Regions from separate parts of the Homo sapiens genome. Here region 1 is linked to region 2. Evidence: promoter capture Hi-C in 16 types of primary human blood cells and fetal thymus (Javierre and others, 2016). All regions are on one chromosome and are shown on one strand. The core of a region is centred on a gene start or on the middle of the fragment in contact, and the rest is flanking DNA. Distances in the headings are between cores, read along the strand shown. Region 1 overlaps EIF2S1 (eukaryotic translation initiation factor 2 subunit alpha). Region 2 holds the start of ERH (ERH mRNA splicing and mitosis factor).

Region 1 (2,700 bases), core at 170-2,669, 2.0 Mb before region 2:
GGTCTTGAAAGATACAGCCATTGGGGTTATTTCATGTTTTCAGTTTTAGCTTATAAAAATGACAGAAAATAATTTTCCATTTTAATACATACATCCTTTTTCTATACTATTCTCATAAGTTTCACCTCTTATTTATGTAATGGAATTTATTGCTGATAAGTCACTCAAAAGTGAACAGATATGACAGAGTTGTTAGAAAAGTGTTAAAGAGAGAAAACATTAGGCAGTAATAGTATTGAAATTAAATTTGTATAGTATTTACTACTTCAGTTTGAAATTATACCTCTGCTTCCACAGCCCAAAGTGGTCACAGATACAGATGAGACTGAACTTGCGAGGCAGATGGAGAGGCTTGAAAGAGAAAATGCCGAAGTGGATGGAGATGATGATGCAGAAGAAATGGAAGCCAAAGCTGAAGATTAACTTTGTGGGAAACAGAGTCCAATTTAAGGAACACAGAGCAGCGCTTCCTGGCTGTAAATCCTAGACTTGAAAGTTTTCCAGTATTGAAAACTTCAAAGCTGAATATTTTTTATTTCTAAGTATTTAAATGTTCTAACAGATCAGAACATGAAATGCCCTCCTAAATGTCAGCTGTTGTCACACAGTAGCTCCAACACTTTGAGCATTTTTAAGGGAGTGGCCTCATTTCACTAGAGACAAATCTTTAAGAATAGTTCTAAAATTGGGCTTGTGATTTCCATTTCTGATGTCTCCAGATTGGCACCCCTTTCTAGTTCAATGCCTCACGAGATTTGCCAGGGGCATCCAAGGCAAACAATCCCAATCTTTCTATATAAAATGTATTCAAGCAAACATCAAATAAATTTCTGGGATATTTAACTATAGGCTTCTTCCTTCTTGTCACCAGTTAAAAGCATTTTAATACTAAGACCCTAATTCTTTTATCTTTATTTTAGTCTTGATGTGGAACTGTAGGAGCAGGTGAATAAAGGATCTCTATAACAGATCCTTTCAAAAGAAGAGTTTTAGAGAAAATAAATTTAACTTTAACCACAGTGAAAGTTGACCCTTAGCGGGACAAAGCCTTAAAATGCATTGAAAGAATTAGATCGGTTCTGTGCCTTTTATCTATTTGAGATTGATGACAACCTGTGTGAGAGAATTTATCACACCACGTCCTTATTGGAATAATAAGCTACTTGCCTTGAGTTTATAATTCAGGGTGGTAAAGTATGTTTTTAAATTTTAAAAAGCAGCTGCATTTTTTATTTAGTTGGAATATCACCCAATTTTTTATTTTTATTGCTATTAAAATATCCACTAGATGCCACCTAGAGCTCCAGTTCTTTATAACAAAACAGGGATCTGTTTGAACACTTACTGTTGTTTTTTTTTTTTTACATGTTTCCATCATTTCTGTCTTTAAGAACTAATTCGTACATAATAAGTTTCATAGGTAACACATTATTTGAAGTTACAGCTACAGTAGTCAGGTGTAGAAAATCTTGAGTTGCTTTGGTCTGCTTGTCTTCATAAATTTATTCTCTTATGATACTTGAGGTACCAGTTGTATTTAATTTTATTCATTATCCCTAGATAGCTATTAAGATACTTAGATTAGACCTAACCCACCATAGTCAATCCAAGACTAGACTACTCAATATTAAAGGGTCTGGAAAATAGAAGAGTGTGTTGGGCAGGTAGTTTGTACCATTTATGAAGGTTTGTTCCTTTGTTAAATTTAGCAGCCTGTACTAGCTTTTGAAATCCAGAAGTTTTAACTTCCAGTGGCTGGTTTCTGAGAGAGTGCCATGATTGCTAGCCAGCATTCCATATTGGGAATATGTAGAGGAGAACCTGGATGTACTTAAGAGTGGCATATAATTTTCACTTCTGTCTGTTGAGGCATCAAAAAAACAAGTTTAGAAAGCTGGCAACATGAAGAATGCATTCAAAATATAACAGGTGCTTCTTTGTTGTACGCAGAGGAATTTTTTCTTTTGATTTTGTTTACTGAAATTTGTTATACTTCAAAAGCCATAACTTGAAAAATACTGGTGGCGTCGATGGTGAGTGATTTTTATCCCACGTGGGCCTTTTGCTCAGTTCCATGGCAATTTTGTAAATTGACCCTAGCCAGAGAATAGATCAGTATTTCACTGATACCACGAGGAAAAGAACAAACAAAACTTAAAAGTATTCATACACCTTGCTAACCTAAAAGACAGCAGGGACAAGATACATATGAGGACAAGGTATACACCCAGTTCTGAATAACTTGAAGAACAGGCTTGGCAAAGAAGTAAGTTTATCCAAATCTTGAATTTCTGCCAGGCATGGTAGCTCATGCCTGTAACCCTGGCACTTAAGGGGCCAAGGCAGGAGGATCACTTGAGGCCAGTGAGCTGTGATCACTCCAGTGCACTCGAGCCTGGGTGACAGGGCAAGACCCTGTCTCAAAAAAAAAAAAAAAAACCAAAAATCTTGAATCTCCCATCAAAGCCTTTTCATTAAAAATACAATTTCATCTACTCCCTACTGTACCTTTCACTGATGTCAAGTGGCTATCAATTCATATAGCTGAAAATTAGTGATAGTTTGGGTCTCATTTATGCATAAATTAATTGAAAATCAGTAATGGCCAGGAAGAAATATGAATATTCAAACCACTTTTTTCTTTTTTTTTTTTTTTTTTTGGCAAATGGTGTTATATTGCCTGGGCAGGTCTCGAAATCC
Region 2 (2,783 bases), core at 61-2,560:
TACTATAATAATTGTATTCCAATTCTAATGCAAATTAAAGGACTAATTTGAAAGGGTAAGAATGGAAAAAGCTATACAGCATGTTGCTTTTTATATCTAGTCTTAAAATGAACACCGGGCAAAGTTTACTATTTTCAGTACTTACTGCCCAAAGACAAGGATTAAAAATCACTAAGAACATAACATGATACATTTTAAAAACTGTGGTCAAGTGGTTATCATTTTTAAATGGCAATGCTTTCCTGCTCAAATTCTTTACAGATTATACCACCTCTCAAGCCAGTTTTGGTCACTTTCTTCGAATTGGAGCTTACTGATCATCCCGGTTGGGTTCTAATAGAGCTGGTCTCTGAGCTGAGCCTACTTTTCAGCCTCCAGCCCCAAGAGGATATAAATACAGATAAGTACAGGATCGAGGGCTGAGGGACGCGCCACACGCAATACCTAGAGGTCTCAAAAACAGGAAAAAAAAAAAAAAGGCAGAGCACAGGAAAACGAAAGCTGAAAAAACACTGCAAAGCAAATACGTCCTCTCCTGGCCCACATGCTGGGTATAGCTGGATCTGTCAGCTTCGAGAATAGTTAGACAACCCTGGCCCATTGTTCCTACAGCAGGCTAGAGCATTTGGAGGGAAAAATACCATATCCGGCAGGGCCCGGTGGCTCACGCCTGTAATCCCAGCACTTTGGGATGCCGAGGCGGGTGGATTGCTTGAGGTCAGGAGTTCGAGACCAGCCTGGCCAACATGGTGAAACGCCGTCTCTGCTAAAATAAAAAAATTAGCCGAGCGAGGTGGCGGGCGCCTGTAATCCCAGCTACTAGGGAGGCTGAGACAGGAGAATTGCTTCAACCCAGGAGGCAGAGGTTGCAGGGGTCTGAGATCCCGCCACTGCACTCCAGCCTGGGCGATAGAGTGAGACTCTCTATCTCAAAAAACAAAACACCTCCCCCACGTCTCCCTCTACCGAGTAACAATCGGGAGAGAGTTCATCCTCAGGCCCAAGGCACGCCGGACCCGAGCGAGCAGGCGGGCGCGCAACCGCAGGGCGGACCGGGGCTCCGAGGCCTAGAGTCAGGCCTGGCGTCCCTGCGGCGGGAAGAAGGGTCAATCCACCGACTAGAGTGGCGGGGAGCATCACGCGGCGCTGCATGGGGCTCGTGGGGAGGGGAAAACGTATGGGGCTGGGGTCGCTCTGGAGGCCGGGGACTCGGACTCGGGTAGCCGCGGAGGCCTTTCTCACCATCGCGCCAAACTCTCTTCGCTACAGCAGCTGCCGACACCGCCGCCGTTACACGAGCTTAACTACAACGCCGCTAACAGCCAATCCTCGCGAGAGGAGCCGCCGGAAGTCGTCGAAAGTGCAACGCAAAAGAGCCTTTTGGATCATAGAGGCACAGTCACTTCCGGCAGCTAGAGCAGCTACTGACTCTGTTTCAGCCATCTTCGATAAAGGCAAAAAGGTAAGGGAAAGTTTCCAAGCTTTAGGAAGAATTATTTTTTTTCAAGACGCTGTCTTCCGTACTTTCGTTATTAAACATACGGCTCAAGTGATCACCGGTATAGACAGTGACATCAGACATCTTTCATTAGCCCTACTCAAAAATGGCGGCAACGTAAGTATCCTGGGCCGGAGGTCGGTTGTAACCCGGAAGTGCCTTTGTAAAGGAGGGGGTGGTTAGACAATCCGGAAGTGGATGGAATGAAGAGATGCCACTTGGCGGCCATGGCAGCTGTAGTATCGGCGACTCCGGGTCAAGGCCCGGTCGAGTGCAGTACCATGGGCAGCACCGGGTATAGGGCAGAGACAGCTTTGTGTCAACTTTGCTGCTGAACCCCTAGGACCCATCGTTAGAGACCTGCAGGACTCCTTTCCTCATCCCAGGCTCGGAGGAGAGTTTGCTGGGACTGGTGGGCTGGTTTCCTGCTCTGGGGGGCGGATCACCTTCGGGGCCGCCTCTTGGAGACAGGGGCGCCTAGGGAACGAACAGGTTCGCTTGAGTCACTTACCCGCCGCCGCCTAAGACATTGTGCCACCCTCAATCCGACAATCGAAGAAATCGATCATTCGCACATTTTCCCCATTGACTTTTCCCATCTCTGTTAACCCACGAGAATCTAATGACTGGCATCTGAGAACCCAGAGCCTGGGACCTTAGATTGCTGTAAGCTTTCTCTGGTGCTAATATCAGCAAAAAGGGTCTGTTGCCGGGTACGTTCAAGAGGAAGGTGCCTCGTGAACACATCTGCTGGTGGGAAGGCCTAAAGAACTGGAAAGCCCACTCTCTTGGAACCACCACACCTGTTTAAAGAACCTAAGCACCATTTAAAGCCACTGGAAATTTGTTGTCTAGTGGTTGTGGGTGAATAAAGGAGGGCAGAATGGATGATTTCATCTCCATTAGCCTGCTGTCTCTGGCTATGTTGGTGGGATGTTACGTGGCCGGAATCATTCCCTTGGCTGTTAATTTCTCAGAGGTAAGAAATTCTCAATTTTCTGTCAGCTGTCAGGATGGCTGTGAGATAGTAGTTTTAGTTGCAAAGGGAAGCTGCTTCCCTAGTTAAATCTCAAAGCTGAAGGTCTCATTAAGAAAGACTATCTTTTTTAAAAGATACATGACACTTAATAATAGAAAGAAACCTCATATTCATTAGTGGAATTCTTAACCTGGGGTGGATAGATATTCCACGGAAGATCCTGGAGTATTCTGAATCCCCTAGAATTGCTTACAAAAATTTGAGGTTCTGTGCATTTACCTGGAGAGAGGCACCATAACATTTCTT

Evidence for each region. Contacts are between HindIII fragments. The CHiCAGO score rates a contact against its expected background, and 5 or more counts as called.
Region 1: a fragment that was not itself captured here is called in contact with the fragment with the promoter of ERH in region 2 in 1 of 17 cell types (neutrophils); the score reaches 6.6 in neutrophils.

What each region holds. Positions count from the first base shown.
Region 1 is chr14:67,383,018-67,385,717 of GRCh38, forward strand. It overlaps EIF2S1 (eukaryotic translation initiation factor 2 subunit alpha), which reads left to right. Exons shown (of 8, transcript NM_004094.5): 8 at 298-2,700. The coding sequence ends at 423. It also overlaps a transcript of GPHN not described here. Among named protein-coding and RNA genes, the nearest start is that of EIF2S1, 24 kb to the left of the region's middle. The HindIII fragment of the contact is 7,072 bases long and covers 1-2,700 here.
Region 2 is chr14:69,396,989-69,399,771 of GRCh38, forward strand. ERH (ERH mRNA splicing and mitosis factor) reads right to left here and starts at 1,311. Exons shown (of 4, transcript NM_004450.3): 1 at 1,243-1,311. The coding sequence starts at 1,245. SLC39A9 (solute carrier family 39 member 9) reads left to right here and starts at 1,704. Exons shown (of 7, transcript NM_018375.5): 1 at 1,704-2,477. The coding sequence starts at 2,382. RefSeq lists enhancers at 311-819, 820-1,327, 1,529-2,728, 1,657-1,996 and a silencer at 1,320-1,560. The HindIII fragment of the contact is 2,829 bases long and covers 1-1,479 here.